Linked DNA regions of Homo sapiens: all the other regions are linked to region 1. The links are contacts of gene promoters, found by promoter capture Hi-C in blood cells and fetal thymus (Javierre and others, 2016). All regions are on one chromosome and are shown on one strand. The core of a region is centred on a gene start or on the middle of the fragment in contact, and the rest is flanking DNA. Distances in the headings are between cores, read along the strand shown.

Region 1 (2,700 bases), core at 38-2,537:
GGCCGCCGTGCTCCAGGCGGTAGCGCACGAGTCCCAGGAGGCGGCTCTGCCGGCTGTCCCCCTCACACAGCACACCTTGCACCGCCTGCGGCTCAGAGTCAAGGGAAGACAACCCAGAGGCGAGGCCTCTCCCCACCCAGGCTGTCCCACCTTCCCTCTGTTCCCCTGCCCCCCCAGATTCACTGTGTGGCCTTGGGTGAGCACTCAAACCATGTGCTGAACTAACAGACAAACAGGCTCTCTAAGCCTTCCTTATCTATGAAATGAGGATAATAATCCCCAACTTCATAGGGAGTTAGGAGGATAACTGCGTATTTAAAGCATTTGGCTGAGAGTCCAGGACTCAGTAAGTACTTAGTAAATACTGATTTCCTTCTCCCCTGATGGTTCAGAGGGGCAGGAGAGGGGATAGACACCTCGACACCTTCCATTCCTCTTCCCAAGGCCAGGGCAGGCTCAGGGCCGCAGTTAGCACAGGAAGGATATGATGACGCAGTATTCCCCCTCAGCCAGCGTCTCCTGGATTGCCACAGACTGGTCCATGCTGGCCCCTGCTGAGCGCACACACCCTGTGGGAGGGGAGATAGGAGCCCCGCTTTGGTCAACAAGTTACGCATGGGGTGGTGGAGCTGCCTCAGAGGGGTTGGGGGCAGGAGGGAGGGGCCTTTGCAGAGGGAGATGGTACCGGGGAGGCCTGATCCTCCTCCTCCTCCTCTTTGTCCTCCCTAGAATAGGCCTTTCAGTTTTTAGGGATAGGGGTCCAGTCCCTTTGCCCCGCTGGGATCTACAGTTTGCTATACTGCCTTTGTCTGGGAGGGCATCCAGTTGCTCTTGAGTGTGGTCTATCCTTGTTGGAAGTGGGGTACGTGGATTGGAGAAGGGGACCTAGTCCCTTTGCTCCTAGGACATGGCTCTTCCTCTCTTTTGGGGACAGTTTTTGTTCTGCTAGCGCCTCTCTGGGAGGTGTCAGTGGTGTGTCCATGTGGGGTTCAGGGAACATCCCCTTACTGTCATTCAGGAGGGTCCCATTCCTCTTTCCTTGGAGACAGGAAGTGTCCCATTGCTGCTTGCCCTTCACCCCCGCCCCAGCAGGCCCATTGCATCAGCTGCAGGCCGGGGGTTGGGGGGTGTCCCAGCCCTCAGCTTGCCCACTCCCTCCTGCCCAGCCCTGCCCTGGCTTTCCTGCTCTGCTCCCACCCACAGCTCCCTGACATTGTCACCTACCTCCTGAGCTGTCACCACAGGGCGCACGGGACTCCGCTGCCCCAGGTTCCGGGACAGTGACTACATTTCCCAACAGCCCCTGCGCCACATGGTGGTCAGTCAGCCTGCAAGTCCCAGCATGCCCGAGTCAATCGTGGGGTGGGGAGTCTCTCCATCCGTGTTAACCCCTTAGGCCCTGGGGTACACTGGGCTTCCTATACCAGAAAGGTTTTCTAATGATTGCCCTCACTCCCATCCCCAGCCCTCTAGGTCATGGGGCCAGAGCTTCCCACCCAGAAGGAAGATGGTCACATTTTATCTTAGGGGAAGAATATAATGCATTTTTATTTTCTCCTTAGTTCCATCCTCAGCTCTTCTCACTCCAGGGTAGACAACCCGGACCTCTACTGAAACTCTTCCCCTAAAATAACTACCTTCTCCTGGTTTAATGGAGGGAGAACCAGACTATGAAGAACCATTATGTCCATTTTCCAGGTGGAGAAACTGAGCCTTGGATAGGTTAAGCAGTTTGACATTAAGTCCTGCAGCTAGCAGGTGGCAACACTGGGACTCCACTGAAAGTCTGACTGCAACTCCTGGGCCATTTATACCGCTACACACTGCCCTATTTCCTCCCTTAGCCCCACCCAGCCCTCCTGCCACACAGGGCTGTTTGAGGCTACTGGGTGTGAACGCACTTTATAAAGGGTATGACACTGTTCCTGTCCGGCAACGTCCTTCCCCTGATCCGCCTGGCTTTGTGACCTTGGCCAAGACCTTTCTTCCCTTGGGACTCAATTTCCCCATCTAAGATAAGGAGGTTACCCAAGATGGACAAAAAGAGCCAGCACAGGGACTGGGCACAGTGGCTCATGTCTGTAATCCCGGCACTTTGGAAGGCCAAGGAGGGAGGATCGCTTGAGGCCAGGAGTTTGAGACCCCATCTCTAAAAAAAAATTTTTTTAAATTTAGCCGGGTATGGTGGTGCATGCCTGTAGTCCCAGCTACTTGGGAGGCTGAGGTGGGAGGATTGCTTGAGCCCAGGAGTTCAAGGCTGCAGTGAGCTGTGATTGCTCACCCAGCTCAGATAAGGAATGCTAGGATCATTCTCACTTGGCCTATTGGCTGTTTAATTAAGCTGTAAGCTCCCGTTGGACAGGACTATGCCTTTTCATCAACATACCAGCAGTTTCTGGCACACAGTTATCTATGGAGTTAGTGAATTACTTTCTGAACTATTTTAATAAATACACCTTCTCTCAAGCTTTGGCCCAAACTGAAGGAATGGGCCTTCAGTGCTGGGGAGGGGGTGACTGTTGTGACTTGTGAACAGTTTCCCTTCCTCTTTCCCCAAGTGAAGTGGCCATCCTAATGACCAGTTCAACTTTGCATATGTAAACCCCTTCCAGAAACAGTCGTTGCCTTCTTCTCAATCCATTTCTTTTCCTGGAAACATCCACAGCACAAATGGAGCTCAAGTTTATTTGAATTCAGTGT
Region 2 (2,700 bases), core at 69-2,568, 880 kb after region 1:
AGGCCGAGGCAGGTGGATCACGAGGTCAGGAGTTCAAGACCAGCCTGGCCAACATGGTGAAACCCCATCTCTACTAAAAAAAAAAAAAAAAAAAAAAAAATTAGCTGGGCATGGTGGCGTGTGCCTGTAATCCCAGCTACTCAGGAGGCTAAGACAGGAGAATTGCTTGAACTGGGACCTGGGAGGCGGAGGTCACAATGAGCCGAGATGGTGCCACTGCACTCCAGCCTGGGCTACAGAGCAAGACTCCATCTCAAAAAAAACAAAAAAAAAAAAAAAAGAAAATTCCTCAGCATAAACATGCGAGGTTAAAAAGCATTTTTCCCCATTGGTAAAGATGATAAGATGAAGCAGAGGGTCAGAGAAACTGGGTAATGCACTCGAGCTAAGGAATTTAGTAAGTGGAAGAGCTGGAGTTTGAGTCCAAATCTACCTTAACTCCAGTGCCCAAGCTCTTAACCATGATTCTGTTCCATGACCAAAGGCATTTTGGAATCTCTGATATACTGAACACGGGATGTTAACTTCTGGCTCTACTGCTCGCTGCAGAGCAGTTGTGTGACCTTGAGTTTGTCACTTTGCCTCTCTGGGTCATCTGCCTGCCTCACAGAGTGGTGGTGACGCTCTCAGAGGTAAAGGCTGAGACTGCTCTTCCTAATGAGTAAATGAAACTGTACAAATGGAAAAGGCAATCAAAATGAGCTTTACTATCAGGAACAGGATGGCACAGCAGTTAACATCTGGGAAGCAGCAGCAGCAACTGCAAAAAGGAATGGCTTTTGAGAAATGCCAGGGAAGCAGGCTGTATTTGAGCCCACGCTCTGGGACAGCTACAAAGCAGAGAGGGTGTTTCCAGCTGCTATGGGCTCTTTAGGGAGCACCCAGGGACTGGAGAGATGCTGCTTGGGCTATGGGCTAAGAATAGGCCTTTGGTCCCATATAATCCTGCTGGTGGACAACCACACTTCTAGAGTCAGGGACCTGGACATTGATAAGGAGATCATTATTACTCTTAACATCAGCTGCAGAATCTTTTGTACTGAGACATAGCTGGCTGCTCACAGCACTTTGAACAGCTCTGACTTGCACTGACTCTGTGGAAGTGAAGATGCTATAAGGCAGGAAACTCTTCTCTACCTCCACTTTAATCCCTTCTGGAAAGATACAGGGCTCCATACATTCAAAAAATACAAGGAAATGAGGATCCACGCACAGCCTGTTGGGTTGTTCCAGGGAGGAATTCCTGCAGTGAGAAGGGGGTCTTCGTATCCTAGAACTTTTTTCAATCATCCAGCACAAAGCCTTCTAATGGGAGATAGAGACAGGCTTGGAGAGGGGACATAGATATTGTCTGGAAGAATCTAAGTCTTTGACTCCAACATGGTTCTGTTCACACTCTGTGTGTCTCCTATGATAAAGCCTAATCATTCATGGTCTCTAGCTCCCTGCATGCCCGTTGGGGCTGATGCGGTAGATACTTGTGGAGGGGCTAGAACCGGGTAGGTTTGGAGGCCAAGACAGAGCTAGGGTTCGTTCACCTGGGAAAGCAAAAGACACCAACTGCCAGAGGGGATCAAAGTCAGAGCACAACTCAAAGAGTCCAGAGCAAGGAGACAAGGTCCAGCGAGGCAGGTCAAGATCTAATGGGAAGCCTGAGTAATTGCGTGAAATGCCAGCCAGCATCTAGAGCTCACCTTTACGGCCAATGAGGACGTGACTCATGGCTTCCTCAGCCCTGTTCCAAAAGCTCTGGGTTGATGAAGGGTTAGAGTGAAGGGGGCAGCTTCTGTCACTGAGTACACAGGTGCCAACACTCTGCCCTCAACCGCCCACGGTGCCCTCTGAAAACCCTGGGCACTGTCTTCTCTGACTCCGACCCACTAATATCACAATTAGCTGGCAGAGGGAACTTTCTTCTTTTCTACTTTTTCCTAAGTCATTCAGGCGGAAGAGTCATTAATACTTCACAAGCAATGAAAAATCAAAAGGGGAAAACTATTTTTTGCTGTATTTTTTAAACATTTGGGTAGGGAAAGTCAGATGTCAAAAAAATCCCCATTTACCTCTTTTAAAATATGAGCAATTGATATTTTCCATGAAGGTTCATGCTCCCTTTCTTCATTCTGTTTGCAGGGTATTGTTAAGCCGTGCTTTGTAATTTGTTGCATGTTTAAATATTCAGTCTGTATTTCATTTGGGCTACACATTTAATTCAGCCAACATGTTCATTTTAAGATCAATACTGTCATAACTATGTTGAAAAATTAAATTATTGTAACTTTATTTACATTTCTTAAAAGTACTGTGAAAATTATTCTTAACCAGGACCTAATCAATGTTAGAGTCTAAAAATATGCCACTCTGCATGAAGCTATAAAAAGATTAATGTACATTTTTTACAAGAAATTAGTAGCTTAATGAAGTGGATAAAAACGCTGTCACAATTTTTATTGGATCTAAATTGCATAGTAGTGGAGGTACAGTAAGTGCCTTCTACATAATGACATAATGAGTCATGACTGGTGCTGGAAGGCTAATTTGCCCTTAACTGACACAAAACCAGGGAATTAACATCCCAGTCGCTCTACGCCAATAGCAGATGCATTATTTCATTGCACAGCAGGGTTTTTAACTAAACTCTTAACTGTAGAAATATTGATCTATTCTTCTGTGAAATGATGAAATTGGAATTTTTTAAAA
Region 3 (2,700 bases), core at 139-2,638, 900 kb after region 1:
GGAGGCGGAGCTTGCAGTGAGCCGAGATCGCACCACTGCACTCCAGCCTGGGTGACAGAGCGAGACTCTATCTCAAAAAAATAAATAAACAAATAAACTAACATAGAGAAAAATAAGGAACTGCTAAGAATCAGTGCAAAAAAAGATAAATATATATGGAACAGGTAAAATGTGAAAGAAGAAACCTGAATAGCCATGAAAAGGTACTTGCCATGAAAAGACACTTGCTCTAACCAGTAATTTAAAAAGTAAAAATGAGAATCAAATAAGATACCCTTTCACACCTACCAGATTGACAATAATTAAACAGTCTAACAATACCAAGCATTATTAAGGACAAGAAGTGATAAGAACTTCCACAGACCGGTGCCAGCCAGGGATGAAAATAGTAAAGTCACTTTGGAGAGCTGTTTGGCAATCTCTTTATTAGTCAAAAGATATAGGTACTCTATAAATTCCACTCCTAAAGGCATACCCTAGAGAAATTCTCCACACGTGCAAAGGCAAACTTAAACTTGTTCATGAGCATTTGTTACAGATTTGAAATTTTTAAAATAATCCAAATGTCCAGCAACAAGAAAATAAAATGTGGTATAGTCAACCTGTAGAATACTATATGGCAGCGAAAAGGAATGAACTAGAACTACGTGTCATCAATCTGAATAAATCTCAAAAACCACCTGAAGGAAAAGAATCAAGCAAGTTGCAGAAGACTACTTATATTTTTATATCATTTATACAATACTCTATTGTTTAAGGATAGACATGAAGTGAAAAAATAAGAAAAATAAAATACACATAGCTCAAAGGAAGGGATTTCAATTGAGAAAAACACACAGAAGACTTCAGCTGGCCAGGCAGTTGGCTCTCATCTATAATCCCGGCACTTTGGAAGGCTGAAGGAAGAGGACTGCTTGAGGCAACGAGTTCAAGACCAGTCTGGGCAAGAGAGAGAGATCCTATCTCTACAAAATATTTTAAAATTAGCCAGTATCCTGTAGCATGAGCCTATAATCCCAGCTACTCAGGAGGCTGAGGTGGGAGGATCTCTTGAGCCCACGAGTTTGAGGCTACAGTGAATTATGATCATGTTGGGGCAATGGAGTAAGATTCTGTCTCTTAAAAAAAAAAAAAGATTTTAACTGTATTTGTCATTTTAGTTCTTAAGCTGAAAGGTGAAGATACATGTTTTGATTTACCCAAAAATTTGTGTATATCTGAACTATTCCATTAAAAATTCAGGCCGGGCGCAGTGGCTCACTCCTGCAATCCCAGCACTTTGGGAGGCCGAGGCAGGCAGATCACGAGGTCAGGAGATTGAGACCATCCTGGCTAACGCAGTGAAACCCCGCCTCTACTAAAAATACAAAAAAGTAGCCGGGCGTGGTGGCAGGCATGTGTAGTCCCAGCTACTCGGGAGGGTGAGGCAGGAGAATGATGTGAACCCGGGAGGCGGAGCTTGCAGTGAGCCGAGATTGCGCCACTGCACTCCAGCCTAGGCAACAGAGCGAGACTGTCTCAAAAAAAAAAAAAAAACTCAGGTAGAAGAGGAAGGACTTGTTGCAGTAAATAACAGAGCTACTGTAGATCCTTGAGTAGTTAAATAATATAAAATAAATTTTCTGAAAACTAATCTGCCTTTGGGATAAAAGATGACACATACTACACCCTCCACATATATGTCAACTACATGAATATTATCAAGTAAGAGACTACTGCAGCACCACTGGCCTGAAGCAATGAGAACCTGGAGTGGAATCACTGACAGTGAAAATGGAAAGGAAACCCAAGTAACAGTTACAAGAAACAAATGATCAGATTTGGTGAAAATTCAATATAAACAACATAGAAGAATAGAAAAAGGAGATCACGAAATCTCCTCTGTGAACCAATCTGCAAGGGCCCCTTCAGCAATCACACCACACAATTACCTAACTACAAGGTATCTACACTTGGACAGGAGAAACTCGCGTAACTAGTGACAGAAGTATGACAGCCACGAGAGTCACAAAACAGGGGAAATACTCATCAACCAATGATTGACATGACGTTGAAGGTAACATTCACAATATTTAAGAGAGAACGTCTTACTAATAGCTCCAAACATGGGACGAGAGCATGATCCCAAGTCATAGCTGGAGATGTGAATTTTTCAATCACATAGAGAAGATTAACTGAAGCCATGTATTTGATGAGCTGACCTAGAAAATACGCAAGCAGAAAGACTTGGCTCTGACAAACAGGACTGAGGAAAAAAAAAAAAAAAACAGAAGAAACAGGAGAGGTGGTCGGGAAAACAAACACACAAAATATCCCAAGAATTCAGCTTCAGAGAAGCAAAGAGAGAAGAAAGTTTTCAGAAAGGAGGGACTGACAAGATCACATGCTTAGAAGATTGAAAAGCCTGCAGAGTAAGAAAAGGCCACTGAATGCAGGAAGGAGGTAACCTGGTAACTTCCAAAAGTCTAGTTTCTATCATCAGAGTGAACAGGCAACCTACAGAATGGGAGAATATTTTTACAATCTACCCATCTGACAAACGGCTAATATCCAGAATCTACGAGGAACTTAAACAAATGTACAAGAAAAATACAACCCCATTAAAAAGTGGGCAAAGGATATGAACAGCCACTTCTCAAAAGAAGACATTTATGCAGCCAACGAATATATGAAAAAAAGCTCATCACCACTGGTCATTAG
Region 4 (2,700 bases), core at 75-2,574, 920 kb after region 1:
AATACAAAAAATTAGCCGGGCGTGGTGGCGGGCGCCTGTAGTCCCAGCTACTCGGGAGGCTGAGGCAGGAGAATGGCTTGAACCCAGGAGGCGGAGCTTGCAGTGAGCCGAGATCGCGCCACCGCACTCCAGCCTTGGCGACAGAGCGAGACTCCGTCTCAAAAAAAAAAAAAAGTCTTAAAGCCAAACCACACTCCCTGAAGCCTATAATAGAATAAAATAGGAATAGTCTTCACCTTTTTCATGACAGCCCTTCAAATACCAGATTGCAGTATTCATTACCCACTAAGTCTTCTCTGTTCCTTGCTGAACATCCTCAGTTTCAACCATTCCTATCGTGCTGTTCAATACAACTGATATACATGATAGACATGTTCTTTATCTGCACTGTCAAACATGTAGCCGCTAGTCCTATGAGGAATAAGCACTTGAATTGTTGCTAGTGTAACTGAGGAATTTTTTTTTTTTTTTTTTTTTTTTTTTTTGAGATGGAGTCTCGCTCTGTCGCCAGGCTGGAGTGCAGTGGCGCGATCTCAGCTCACTGCAACCTCTACCTCCCGGGTTCAAGCGATTCTCCTGCCTCAGCCTCCTGAGTAGCTGGGACTACAGGTGCCCACCACCACACCCGGCTAATTTTTTTATTTTTAGTACAGACGGGGTTCCACCATGTTGGCCAGGATGGTTTCTATCTCTTGACCTCAAGATCCACCCTCCATGGCCTCCCAAAATGCTGAGATTACAGGTGTGAGCCACGGCACCCCACCAGGAACTTAAATTTTTAACTGCCACTTGCAGCTAGTGTGTACCAAATCGGAGAGCCCAGCCTTATATATTCAAATCCTCTATTGGTCACTCTTTATATGCATTCCAGCTTGTCAATATCCATCAAACATCTGACTCCTACAAAGCAATACTAAACAGTACAACTTTCAGAATGACCATTTAACACCTAGACAGTATTTCTATTCCTGCTTTCCAGAATGTAATTTTTTTTAAGCATCCATAGGGTGGGTCACATTGATAATCACTGTAACTAATACTTTGTCAGCAATCCTAGTGCCTAAATGTGTATAACTGCATTTTTTAACCTAAATGTAAGACTTGATACTTCAACTTTTTGGTTTAGGCCCAGCAGTTTGGGTATTCCACGTGGTTAATCATTTTAAAGCTTGTTTCAATATAGTCTTCCAACCAGACTTTCCAATTTGTGTCACTTACAGATTTGGCACTACCACCATCTGGTCTGTATGTAATCCTTTACAGTTTGCAAGGCACTTTTACATCCATTATATTTAATTTGATTCTTACAACCAACTTGTGAGATAGGCAAGATGTGAAGTCGATATTTTATAGACAAAGCAGCTGAAGCATAATAGGAGCTTAACTGGTGGGATCCATTTATCCATTTTCTCTTCCATGGAGCATCTTGTTGTATTCATCCAAATCCTTGACAGAAATGTTGAAGAGGACCTCTAGAGGCTAAGCTTATCCTGAATTCTTAAATAGCACTGACTGTTACAGTTTAAGCAAGTCAGTTTCACCTAAAAGTGTGATTATCCAACCCACATGTTGCCTTTCTGTTCAAAAAGGATGGTACCAAAGACAGTCACAGTCACCTGGCTTACTGACATAAATATTAATACTAATCAAATGAGTAAAAAGCCCATGAGGATTGGCTGCCACAAAAAATTTTCAACCTGTATCTACCAAGAAACTATCATACCAACTAAGGAAGCCAAGTCTCTCTCTCTTTCAAAACCCTCACGGGGCCATGCTTTATTATAATGGTCTGCCACAGGTCCTAACCCACACTGTATTTGATTATATACAGTCTCATAATTAAGTCATTCCTCTTTATCACACCCAGCACTTAGTCCACTGCTGCCCATGTAGGAGGCACTCAAATTGGTAAAAGAGAAATCTATGCAAGGGAATGATCTTCTGGACCCCCTCCAAAAACAAACTTGTGACTAGAAGAGGCACCAGCCATAGCCACATTCCTACTAACAGGGCTGATTTAAATGCCCTTTTTATTGGCTTGGTCATAGTCTCCAACAGGTGCCAAGGCTTTTGCTAGTTAAACCAGTTTTCATTGGATCATTTTGTTTTCTATGTGTGTTTTGACCAAAAACAAAGATAGGTTCTCTAACAACAGGGAGAGAATATATGAAATAGGAATATGTCTATAAAACGACAGTCTACCAGTAAGGAAAATAAGTGATCCATAAAACAAAACATCTGACTGTAGGTCTACCCAAAGAAAGGAAAAAGGACTAACAAACAAGAATATAGTGCTTTACCATTTACAAATCTTTCACATACATTCTCATTTGACCCTCACAACAACCCTGTGAGGTAGGCATCACGGACATTCTACTCATTAAACAGATGAAGACAGTAAATCTCAGAGTAGTTCACTGATAATGCCCAAGGCTCTACAGTTAGTGAGTGATTTGTATTAATATCAGTCTTTGGCCTAAAAATTCAGCACCCCTCTTCCCCTTATACTTGTCCCACCTACTTCACAGGGATAATGAAGATAAAATGAATTCAAGGCTAGAAAAATACTTTGAGGGAGAAAAGCACTATATAATTATACCTACAAACTATGATTTTCCCCAATATATGGCTCATTCCTCTTCTCATCTCAGCTTGTGTGTGAACCCAGAGTTGTATATTGCCTCTGTCCTGTGCTCAGTA

What was found. Contacts are between HindIII fragments. The CHiCAGO score rates a contact against its expected background, and 5 or more counts as called.
Region 2: a fragment that was not itself captured here is called in contact with the fragment with the promoter of INPP5B in region 1 in 1 of 17 cell types (neutrophils); the score reaches 6.9 in neutrophils.
Region 3: a contact is called between a fragment that was not itself captured here and the fragment with the promoter of INPP5B in region 1, in 3 of 17 cell types (endothelial precursors, activated CD4 T cells and total B cells). The highest score is 6.6, in endothelial precursors.
Region 4: a fragment that was not itself captured here is called in contact with the fragment with the promoter of INPP5B in region 1 in 3 of 17 cell types (total B cells, M0 macrophages and naive B cells); the score reaches 6.4 in total B cells.

Annotation. Positions count from the first base shown.
Region 1 is chr1:37,945,766-37,948,465 of GRCh38, forward strand. It overlaps INPP5B (inositol polyphosphate-5-phosphatase B), which reads right to left and starts at 1,288. Exons shown (of 24, transcript NM_005540.3): 1 at 1,225-1,288; 2 at 487-569; 3 at 1-85. The coding sequence starts at 543. It also overlaps a transcript of LOC105378651 not described here. RefSeq lists enhancers at 1,110-1,639, 1,217-1,456. The HindIII fragment of the contact is 11,910 bases long and covers 1-2,465 here.
Region 2 is chr1:38,823,941-38,826,640 of GRCh38, forward strand. No RefSeq gene overlaps it. Among named protein-coding and RNA genes, the nearest start is that of RRAGC, 34 kb to the right of the region's middle. The HindIII fragment of the contact is 6,603 bases long and covers 1-2,700 here.
Region 3 is chr1:38,842,198-38,844,897 of GRCh38, forward strand. The region is part of intron 6 of RRAGC (Ras related GTP binding C); the gene reads right to left. Among named protein-coding and RNA genes, the nearest start is that of RRAGC, 16 kb to the right of the region's middle. The HindIII fragment of the contact is 4,730 bases long and covers 1-2,700 here.
Region 4 is chr1:38,861,218-38,863,917 of GRCh38, forward strand. It overlaps MYCBP (MYC binding protein), which reads right to left. Exons shown (of 5, transcript NM_012333.5): 5 at 1,276-2,700. All of the region lies in intron 1 of RRAGC-DT (RRAGC divergent transcript), which reads left to right. It overlaps GJA9-MYCBP (GJA9-MYCBP readthrough), which reads right to left. Exons shown (of 3, transcript NR_037637.1): 3 at 1,273-2,700. Among named protein-coding and RNA genes, the nearest start is that of RRAGC-DT, 2.7 kb to the left of the region's middle. The HindIII fragment of the contact is 316 bases long and covers 1,167-1,482 here.